Linked DNA regions of Homo sapiens: all the other regions are linked to region 3. Evidence: promoter capture Hi-C in 16 types of primary human blood cells and fetal thymus (Javierre and others, 2016). All regions are on one chromosome and are shown on one strand. Each heading gives the region's core, a stretch centred on a gene start or on the middle of the fragment in contact. The rest is flanking DNA. Distances are from core to core; before and after follow the strand shown.

The links. Contacts are between HindIII fragments. The CHiCAGO score rates a contact against its expected background, and 5 or more counts as called.
Region 1: a contact is called between a fragment that was not itself captured here and the fragment with the promoter of BCL11B in region 3, in 2 of 17 cell types (fetal thymus and non-activated CD4 T cells). The highest score is 9.6, in fetal thymus.
Region 2: a fragment that was not itself captured here is called in contact with the fragment with the promoter of BCL11B in region 3 in 1 of 17 cell types (non-activated CD4 T cells); the score reaches 7.0 in non-activated CD4 T cells.

The regions. Positions count from the first base shown.
Region 1 is chr14:98,199,609-98,203,117 of GRCh38, reverse strand. It overlaps LOC107987207 (a long non-coding RNA gene), which reads left to right. Exons shown (of 2, transcript XR_001750875.2): 2 at 1-1,125. Among named protein-coding and RNA genes, the nearest start is that of LINC02295, 65 kb to the right of the region's middle. The HindIII fragment of the contact is 4,979 bases long and covers 1-3,509 here.
Region 2 is chr14:98,216,567-98,220,491 of GRCh38, reverse strand. All of the region lies in intron 1 of LOC105370656 (a long non-coding RNA gene), which reads right to left. Among named protein-coding and RNA genes, the nearest start is that of LINC02295, 83 kb to the right of the region's middle. The HindIII fragment of the contact is 466 bases long and covers 2,205-2,670 here.
Region 3 is chr14:99,270,751-99,274,510 of GRCh38, reverse strand. BCL11B (BCL11 transcription factor B) reads left to right here and starts at 2,314. Exons shown (of 4, transcript NM_138576.4): 1 at 2,314-3,350. The coding sequence starts at 3,293. RefSeq lists silencers at 1-103, 2,388-2,467. The HindIII fragment of the contact is 13,366 bases long and covers 1-3,760 here.

The sequences.
Region 1 (3,509 bases), core at 66-2,565, 1.1 Mb after region 3:
ACACAGAGTTCCTTTCCCTGAAAATGCACCAACGAGGCACCACCTTGGAAGTGGAGACCAGGCCCTTAACAGACACCAAACCTATAGGAATCTTGATGTTGGATCTCCCAGCCTCCAAAACTGTGAGAAATAGATTTATGTTCTTTATAAATCACCCAGTCTGTGGTGCTCTATTATAGCAGCACAAAACAGACTAAGATAGCAGGTACATACGGACAAACGGTATATGATTGTACACAGGTGAACATGTACTTAAACAGAATATGGTAGTGCACAAGCAAACACATGCATAAACAGTACGTAGTCACACACAGGCTAATGCATACATAGGCCAGATCATTTCCCACATTGGCAGTACTATGAAGGGGATGAAGATGGGCTCAGAGGATCGGGAGTGGATAGAGGTCCAGGGCAGTAAGAGCCACTGTAGATGAGGTGGTCAGGGAAGGTGTCCCTGAAAAGATTCCACCTGAACTGACACCAAAGGGCAGGGGTGGGCAGCGATGAAAAGGGCCCCTCTCTCAGGCAGGGAGCAGCAAATTCATTATCATTGAGGCAGGACGCAGCTTAGCATTGCTCAGGACAATATGATCAGTGTGGCTGGAGATCAGTGCACTTTCGGAGGTGACATGGATTGAGGTTAGGAAGACTAGCAGGTGTTGACTCCTCCAGGTCTTAATTTATAAGGGTAGCAGATCTGATAGGCTACTTGTGATGTGGTGAGCGCCCCATCAACTGGGCAATGGAAAGAGGGGCTGGGTGACCACTGATCAGCAATGTCGGAAGTGGGAGAGAGTGAGGAAGAAATTGAAGTGGAATGCTTTAAAGCACTGTCCGTCTTTGACATCAAGACACTCACTTTGCTGAGCTCAGAGACATCTGAAGTTTAATCACCTGCAGATTTGATTGAATGTATTTTGCCAATATTGAGGGACAGCCACCATGAGGAGAAGTGCCAGTGCAGCTGCCAACTGAGGAGAGGCCAGGACCTCAGTACCATGGATACAGCAAATGTGGACAGAGCCAGTGCCGTGGCTCATTTAGAGCCAGATGTGAAAGGCAGCTGGCTGTGCCTCCTTGCTTTGACTGCTGAAAACCATAAATAAATACATGTAAAAAGTTGGATGTTAGCTCTGTCATTATTTTACAATGATGATAGGACGTTAGAATATGAATGCAGTTTGAAAGATAGCACTGTCTTTGATACATCAAAAAGCCCTCTCCACTTGACTAGAACTTTGGAGGGACGCTACTAGGATAAACTCCTCCCTGCCTGTTCTCCTGATGTTGTATTACGATGACAGAAGCTCTCAATGTATCAACTTAATTTCAGTTCAAAAACCGTCTTAGTTCTGCCCTAGTGAAGTCAAATGGAGTTTTATCATTTTTTCTTGGGCATAAGATGCTCAATTTTCCAGAGGGAAAAAATGCAGAATGGAGCTGAAAATGTAATCATATTTGGGAGAAATGGGTAATCATATTCTTGTGGTATTAAAGACTTCTCTAAGAAAACTCTGCTACCAAGAATGGGGTCACAGGGTTGAGAATCCATCTGACACTGTGGAAGAAAGGCAATGTTATCCCTATCTACATTTCCAGAATCTGATATCTATTTTCTCCCCATTCGCTTGCCCATGGTATGGCTACATCTGCATCTATACAGTGGATTTTCCATCTACTCATCCTTCTTTGATCAGAGCTCAACCTCTGTGAGCTTTGATTTCCAATTCCTAGAATAGAGACAGGGTACTTGCCCCTGAGCCCCTCAATACCCGGTGACTGAATTCCCTCTGTTTTGGCTTTCGTGACACTGTCCAGGTACACTCCCCTTTAATGGAGACTTCTGAGTCTGCTCTGGTTCTAGAAAGGCAGTCTAAGTTAATTTCCACAATTTTCATTGTATTGGCAAAGAACTTGAGGCTTTGTTGTTCAAGAAACTTCCCAGTATCTATTAAGGGGCAGATCTATTTATCAAACCCAGACTTACAGATGCCAGTGTCCAGGCTTTGCCCTGTTCCCCATAATTGCCCCTAAGAACCATCTGTAGCACATCTGAGATGGAGCCACGGAGTCCTAGTCTGGCCTCCTGGAATCCACCCACTCCTGTCTGGGGAGCTGCCTGCCCTTTGCTGGCCCTTCTGATGAAGGCTCCACTCCATCTGGTGAGACCTGGGAGCCTCTGGTCCGGTTACCAGCTAGCCCTCCCATCTCCCATATCTTGAAGTCTGCTGGGAGGGAGGACTCGGGTAATAACCACGCTAATGACAAAGCGCTAACTGAAGACCCCAGTAACCTCTTGGTTTCCTCCCTTCCCATGGCCGTGGCATAATGAAGCCGGGCAGGCACTTGGGGAGTAATCGGATCCAGCTCAGGGTTAGCTAAGAGGTGGTTTGTGGTCAGGTGTCCAACAGATGGGTTCAAATTACCTGACTTTAATTTCAAGTAATTGGTGAGCTGGATTACCCTCCAGCTCAGGGGACCTGGAACTATATGTCTTTTACTATCAGCCCTGAAGGAAAAGGAGAGTCTGCTCCATGGGGGTGGTGAGGGTAGGGGTGGGAAAGGCCAGGGTCCGGACACAGGGGTATCCAAATGATTCCAGAGGCTGGGCCAGAGTCCCTCAACCTTCAAGGAAGTTTTCTAATGATAGGTTAAGATTCTATTGCAGAACTTGCAAAGACTTCTCTCCAGATGATGGAAGAGAGTTAAAATCATAAAGGGTGAGATTTGGTTATGTAATTCTCTCTCTTCTGGTTTTTTTTTTTGTTGTTGTTTTGTTTAATTACCAATATGTTTATGCAAATGCACATATTTCCAAATGCTTGTTTAGTCTGCTTGTGCATCTATTTATACTCTTAATAATCACTAGACTTTACTGGGGATGTCCAGGCACTTGGCTAATTGTTTTACATGTCAGAGCTTCTCCAATGTTCCAATGACCCTTATGGGGTAGAGACTCACAGCTATCACTTTACAGATGTGAATAGTGATAGTGAAAGGGGTGGATGGGCCTGCCCCTGGTCCATGGTTCCTCATGGAGAGCTGGATCTCAGCACAGTAAACCACCTCAAAGGCTCCATCCCTTTGTCTCTGCTGAGTGCAAGCTCTTCAACTCCTCTCAGGAAGATGACAAGGACTTTCATCCCAACGCCTCCACTCCTGCTCTCTCCCTAGTCTCTTCATCTTGTGTTCATTCATTTATTTATTCTTGCAAAAATCACATCCCCAAGTCTGTATTTAGCCTGTGCTTGACCTATATTAGACATTCAATAAACATTTTGAGGGTGAATCAATGAACACGAATGCAAGGGTTAATAAGACAGGGCTCTTCCATCAACAGGTTATGCATACCTGGTGAGAACAAAACTATAAACACATCCACGCACACCAAGATGGTAATTTCACAATATATAGTGATAAAAAGAATTGTGAGAAAAAAATGAAGCCACATTTGCAAAAAAGTGAAGTGCCTTACACAGCATTGGGTGCATATGTAATAAGTGGTCAGT
Region 2 (3,925 bases), core at 1,188-3,687, 1.1 Mb after region 3:
CCAGCACAGCTTAGCTGGTACCCAATAGAACATCACTTTTTCCCTCCTGACTTTACTTTCCTTTGAGTTAAAATCTCACTTATTACCAACATGTAGATAGGGAACTTTCTCATAAAATAATAATTATAATAATATTTTTTAAAAAACTGGAGTTTTGCCTACTTCTTGTGGCAAAGACTGGATGGAATCGAGCTTCTGCTGCCCCATTTAGACAGAACATGTGCTCTATATATTCCCCTAGTCTCCACCCAGCCAGTTTGCTCTTTCTAATGTGAACTGAATGCTATTGGCATTGAGGTTTGTGACCTTTATTTTAATGTGTAAAGCAGATCAGATGTCCTAGATCACTTCTTCTCCAAACTTCAACTTAGACTGACTTCCACCAACAGCCCACCACCCCGGGGGCCTGCCTTTACAAAAGCGTGGTGGCCGGTCACAGTCAGTGCCCTGGAAATGATCAGAACTACTGCTGGGTACATGCCCTGAGAGATGCTCAGAGCCCATCCTCTCCTCCAGGAGCAGCCCATCTGACCCCTGTGTGAATCGGGCCAAGACACTTACTAGGCTCTCATACCCTTTGCTTTAGAAGCCGGCTGACTAAGTGTTATCAATTCATACTGAAATTTACACTCGCCTCCTCGCTCTGTTCCCATCAAACACTGTGGAACATTTTGTCCTCTGTTCTCAAGCAAAAGAATGGTCCCTGCGTACCTCCTAGATGGTGATGCTGGGTATCACATGTGGGCCAAAGGAAGCCTGGGAGGGTCTGGTTTTCTCAATGTGGAGATGTGTCCCCTGTCTAGTGCTTTCTGAGAGAGTCCATGAGGTCAGGCACAGCTGGAGTCTCTAGGCAAGTACATGAGTCCAGAGACTCATGTAACTCTGTGCAAGTCCAGAGTTGAGGTCCCTTCCCAACTCCCCTGCCAAAGTGAACCTGGGGAATATCTTCAAGGAGAAGGGCACATTGTTTTGTTGGTGGTTTACCCTCAATCGTTGTCATATTCAGTCTCTAGGAGTGAATTGCTGAAGAAGAGTGACCAAACTTAAGGCAGAAGGAAGATAAGCCTGTGACCGTTGGTGGGATCTCTGGCTTTATCAGCGTGGCTGACATTCTCAGACTCTAATGGGATTCCCGGATATTGTATGGAATGCCTTACCTTGGATCATGGTTCCAATTCACCATCATTCCTTCATTTATTCAAATTTGATTGAGCACCTGCTATGCCTCAACCTCTTTTTAGGTATTCAGAGTACATTAATGAACACAATAGATAAAGGTCTCTGCCCTAGTGAACTGAGACATAAAAAGCAGTAACAGAACAAACTGGTGCATTATATAGCAGAGTTCAGACATGCTAAAGACAAACAAAAATAGGAAAAATAGTGCTGACCAAGGGAGTGTATCGTGTATATGGACTGATTAGCCAAAAAAAAAAAAAAAAAAAATTAGAGAAGCAGTTAAGAGGCAATGGCTCAGGGCATGGGCTCTGACAATGGGATTCCTGGTTTTTAGCCTTGGCACTAGCACTTTCTAGGCAGGCGACCACGGAAAAATGACTTAACCTCTCTCAGTTTCTGCATCTATAAAAGGAAAATAACAATATGTCTTCTTCACAGAGGTGCAGTGAGGGTTCATTGAGAAAGGTGCCCGGCACACACAAAGTGTTCAGTGAATGTGTTAACTCTTTATTATTCACATGCCCGTGTTGTAATTGAGAAGACAGAGACCCAGAGAAGGGGAGCAGCTTCCCCAGAGGGCAGGCAAGGCAGGACCTGAGCTCAAAGGCAAGCAAGGGAGAACTTGGGATAATCATATTTAATCATAAACAACAATGGCTGTATCTGCAAATCCTCTGTGTCTTTTCAATAGTGTTTGGAAGAATCCCCTCTGCCTACTCCCTTTGCTCCCAGGCACTGACCAGACATCTTGGTGGCATGTCCAGGGGTCATCTCTTAGGAACCTCAATGAATGTCACTTGACCAGTCAACCAGTCGATCGGGTCAGCTGCAGCCCTCACACATGGCACAGTCAGTGTTTCCTCCCACGCCCTGGCTTTGCTGTGAAGCAAGGACAGCCGCCTGCTGATTAGCATCCACATGCCCTTATGCATAATTGAAGACATGTTAAGTCACCCAACTGAGTTCTCTTCCCCAGACCACATGGTTCCAGAGCACTGAGTTCCCAGAGGCCACTTTTTAAAGCTTTTATCTTGTCTATCACTCCTAGACTCTTCTCCTTTCTTACCCCTCTTTGAAGGACATGCACTAGGTAAAAGGCAAGAGGCTGCTACAGGAGAGAAGGGGAGAAAGAGGGAAACAGGAAGGGAATCACTCCTTTCAGGCTACTCCCTGCATCTCTAGATGAGACTACAGGGAGAGAGTGAATCCAAGGACAGACAGACCAGAGATTTTCTCTTCAACCCTCTGATTTGGATTGTCACTTGCTTTCACATCCCTCTGGCATTAGCATTGCCTGGGGGTCAGGATCTCTGTAAATGTTAGAAAAGATGGTAGGTGCTTTGCTCATCCCAATACTTCCTCCATCCATCCACCTCACTGAGTATCTTCTATGTTCTGGGTTCTGTGGCCCTGAGAAAACACAAAAAACTAGAACAAGGCAGCATAGAGACAACCACAGGGAGCCCAAAACCACAGCAAGGGCAGTAAGCTTTGACCATGGGGAGAGACAGTCAGACAGGGATGTGTAGAGGAGGAAAAGTGTGAGGTTGCAACGAATGGACGAGAAAGAGCCAAACGTAAAATGAGGAGTACAGATGGAGCCATGTGTGCAAAGATACAAAGGTGAGCAGAACTGAGGCACGCACGTGAGCTTGGAACAGAGTGAAGAGAGACAATGGCAGGGACCGAGAGGCAGGGCCTGGATAATGAAGGGATTTGGAAGAAACAGAGAGCAGTTTGGGTTCTATTCAGAGTGAACAGGGAGACTTTGAAGGGGTTTCAGGGGGAAAGGGAGAGGATGGGTTTTGTATTTTGCAGAGATTACTCTGGCTATAGTATGGATAATGGAGCAGAGGGTAACAAGAAAAGGGGAAGGAAAACCTCACAGAATCCCTTCACAAACCTCAAGGGAGGGTATGATGGTGACCTGAGTGAAAGCAACCCCCGTTTGGATGGAGAGGGAAGGTTTGATAACAGGGACATTTATGGTGGTCATCATAGAAATTGACTACTTATATCAGTCAGATAAGTCTATGTTAGAATAACAAACAATCCCCAAATCACAGTGGTTCACAGAGAGGCAGGGTTATTTGTAACATATATTGTTGTTCATCAAGGAATCACAGGAATTCTGTGGCTCTGTGATGTGTCCTCTTCATCTGGACAGGCTGGTCTCCCAGAAGGGGAAAATGAAGGAGAGCAGAACTACACAGGGATTCTAGCAACTTCTGTCCATAAGCTGCACCCACCACCTCGACTCATATTCGACTGGCCAAAGCAAGTCACAAGGTCAAGGCTGACATTACTGTGGCGGGAAGTAGTGTGTTTCTGCAAGGGACAGAAAATGTGTTCAGAGTAGTACTGTCTATCCTCATCTGCCCGCTTGGTCTCTAGTATTCACCTTCCTCCTTTGCTCATGTACAAGATGCTCACTCCTTCCTAAAGAAAGACAAAAGTCCTATCCAATCCATCTTGGACTCAAAATCCAGAATGTCATCTTTGTCTCTATATAAAGTCTGGAGACTGCCCTCTCCCATCTGAAGTCCCATAAAATAAAAATGTGAGTTAGTTGTGATCTCACCACCACCCCCAAATACAAAGGTGCTATGGGGACAAGGGAAGAACAAAAGCAAGAGGACTCCTATTTAAGAAGGGAAGAGTAAGCAGCACACAGTGCCCGCCAGTCTTTAGCAATTCTGAAACCCAGACAGACATGATGAGGATTCCCCACTTTGGAGTGGGGGGA
Region 3 (3,760 bases), core at 1,065-3,564:
CTACTTCCTGCTGGGAGTGGGGAGGGGGTGCCCCCTCCCCAGGCACGGCCCCTTACCGCACGCGGGGTGGCGGCTGCAGCTGGGACTCCGAGAGCCCTTGCGCCGCTCGCGGAGGGGCTCCCTTTTCCTGAGGGGTCCTCCCCGTCCCGCCTTGCCACTGGCGGGGTCTGCCTTCCTTGTAATCAACCCCAGGAAGGTGAGGGTCGTGGGTCGGGATTTCGAGTCCCGGACCGCCGGCGGCGCTGGGCTGCAGGCACGCCGCGGTGTTTTGGGTCCAGACCTGTCCCTGACGCGCTGTGTGTCCTAGGGCAAAGTGCTCACCCTCTCTGGGCTTCACATCGCTAGTTCTCAGAAAGAGAGCGCGAGTTGATCTTTCAAATTTAGAGTCCGGGCGAGTAGGGATGGCCAGTTTATGAATGTCTTAAAGAAGTTTATTAAAGGTGCGTGTGGGCATATTTTTTTTAAGCCACTTTCCTGGAAAGATTTTCCCGGTGAGAGGGATGGCAGAAGAGGGAGGCCCTACTAGACTTTGGACCACGTGGAGGTGGGGTGTTGGGGGTGGGCAGCCGGGTGCAGCCTGCCCGGCCAGGGCGAGGAGGTGCAAGTCCGCGCCCCGCCCCCGGTCTCCATCCGCTCGGCCTCGCGTCCGCCCACCGTGGAGCCCACAGTTTACAGAACTGCAAGCCAGGGCACATTTTATTGTTATTATTTTTTAGGGTATGGGACTGGAAGGGATCTCTTTCTGTTCTCGCTCACGGACTCTGGGCGCTGTTAAATTGTTGGTGCCATCGCCCCACCCAAGACCTTCGGGACGAAAACAAAAACCCCCGTGTGCCCCCCGAGGAAAAGGCCCCGAGGGAGGCGGCGCTGAGGCGTCACGGCCTCGCCATGCGCCCGGGTGAAGCCGCCGGAGCCAGGCCTGGGGGCGGAGTGGGGTGGGTGCAGCTGGACTCGCCCGCGAAGCCTAGCCGGAGCCAGGCCCCGACCCGCCCTGGCCGCCTCCAGAGAAACCCTGAGAAGGGAGAGGAGGCCAGCCGCGTGGCGCGCCCAGCCCTGGAGGCCAGGTCATCAAATTGACAAAGTTGGCCACAGCCTGGGGAATGGGGGGTGTCCACGGGGGCCGTGGTCTGGCCTTGTCCCCGGGCCACGGAGAGGCCCCACAACTCCTCTTGTCCTCGCCGGTTGGAGATCAAACGGCTGACAAGGCAGCTGCGTCCTTCCCAGTCTGACAGGCATTTCCAAGTCCTACCCTGGGCCGAGGAGCGCGGGGGGCGGGGTGTGACTTCCAGGTTGCTGTGATTGTCAGGGGCGCCTCCTGGAGTCACCCACCCGAGTATCTGCGGAGATTTGGCCACACCTACTCCTGGGCTGGCAAGTCCAAGTCCCTCTCCCACGTGGAGCGCCCCGGTCCCTTTACCCTCTCGCTTGCCATAGACCCAGTTTAGGAGGTGGGGTCGTGTTTGACCCCAGGAGTTAATCGGGGTAAGGTGAGGGGAGGGGACAAAGATTTGAGTGAAAATCCTTTTCCAAGTGGGACTCAAACAAGGTCTCAAACACTTCTCACCCCCTCACGTGCTCTTGATTCTGTTGTCTTAGTGTCGTTTATTTTGTCATCCTCACCCTCCCAGAGTCTGTAATACCAGGATTTATATGGAGACACTTTTTGGAAGTTGAACTCCAACATCTACTCCCCTCCCCTCGCCGCCCGCGACCATAAAACAAAAGTAAAAACTACCAAGCGACTTTTCCAGGGAAACGAAGCGATTCTTACTGTCCCCCCAACTCCCATGTCGACCCCAACCCTTTTCCACAGTCCACGCCCCCACCCCCAAAGTCCAAGTCCGAAAGAGCTTTTGGGTGGGTGGAGACTTGCATTGATTCAATTTAGTTCACTCACACAGCACCCCGCCCCCCTTCTCAGGGGGTCCTGCTCCCAGGATGGAGGAGATATAAGGACGATTTTTCTTTTATTTTAAAATAAGCTGCCCAGTGGCCCCCCCCAACCCCCTCCCGCTGTTGCGCAGCCGGGGCTCGGGGGAGATGAGCGCACAAAAACGCGGTTTGCACGTGTGTCCGGCTTGGGCTGCGGGTGTGCGCAACTGGCGACTGTGTGTGTGTGTGTGTGAGTGTGCGCGCGCGCGCGAGTGTGTCTCTGTGTGTGCTTTCTTGTTCTCTTACAGGGTACAATGTTAAAAAGCCACCGCTAGTCGCCCCCAGTGCTCCGACTCTCTGGGTCTTTTTGTCTCTAGTGCAGATTAAACGTCACGTCCGCACTTGAACTTGAATTTTATCCCATTGTACAGAGGCAGCCCCAGCCATAGAGAGACCGAGAGCTCCCAGAGAACCCGGACTCCGCCATCTTCACGTTGCAATCTATAGCTCCCAGTCTGCGCCCGCACCGACCCAGGCGCACTGGGCGAGCCGCCCCTCCGCCCCGCTCCCCCCGGGCCCGCGGCGCCAGGGGAGCGCTGGGGAGCGCTCGCGGGGACTCGGCAGCCCCTCCGGCCGGCGCCAGCCTGCCAGGTGAACTGGGAAGGAGCCTCTCCTGGTGTCCCCCCAGAGCCTCGGAAGGGTCAGTCTCCGAGAAAAAACAAAAACAAAAACAAAAACAGGCAGCCCGCAGAAAACCCAGAAACAACCGAACCGGGGCAGTTTTACATTGCTTTGGGTTTTTTGAGGGGGCGGGGTGAGGGGGTACGAGACAAGTCCCCAAGTTTTCTTTGCTTTTTTTTTTCCTTTGCTTTTTCTTCTTTTATTTTTTTATTTGTTTGCATTTTTTTTCCCCTCCTGGTAGAAGTGCGCTTTCCACCTACCAGACCCTGAAAGAAAGTGTCAGGAGCCGGTGCAAAACCCAGTTTAAGTTCAAGAAGACATTTGCAAGTGCAAGAGGCCAAGCAGTTTGAAGAAGTGTAAGAGATTTTTTTTCCTTCGAAAGAATATATTTTTAAAGAAACCAGCCAGTCCGCGGAAAGCAACAGCAGTTTTTTTTTTTTTTGCCTCTTTTTCTTATTTTAGATCGAGAGGTTTTTCTTGCTTTTCTTCCCTTTTTTTTCTTTTTGCAAACAAAACAAAAAACAGCATAGAAGAAAGAGCAAAATAAAGAAGAAGAAGAGGAGGAAGAGAGGGAAAGAGAGGAAGGGAAAAAAAACACCAACCCGGGCAGAGGAGGAGGTGCGGCGGCGGCGGCGGCGGCGGCAGCGGCGGCAGCGGCGCGGCGGCGGCTCGGACCCCCTCCCCCGGCTCCCCCCATCAGTGCAGCTCTCCGGGCGATGCCAGAATAGATGCCGGGGCAATGTCCCGCCGCAAACAGGGCAACCCGCAGCACTTGTCCCAGAGGGAGCTCATCACCCGTAAGTGTCTGCGGAGTGCGCGCGAGGGGCCGGAGATGGGGCTCCGGGCGTCTGGGGCTGGGGACACCGAGCCCGGAACAGCCGAGCCTGGCCAGGCGCCGGGGCCGCCCGCTGGCTGGCAGAGTCTACGGCGTCGGCCTGGAGCATGGCGGGGGGCGGGGGCCATAGGAAAGTTTCTTTGCAGCCCGGGGAGTTGGGGCGCCGAGCAGCCGGACGCGCCTCGGGCTCGGGGGCCTGCGGAGCCGGCTCCGGGCCGGGGAGGGGGCATGCAGGCTGGAGGAGTGTGTGTGTGTGCGCGCCGAGCCCGGCTGGACGCTCGCCCCTCCGAGCGGCGTGTGTGGCGGCGGCGGCGCTGGTGGCGGGGTTTGGAGAGGAGGGGGAGGGGGCTGGGGGAGCGGAGGGGGAGGGGG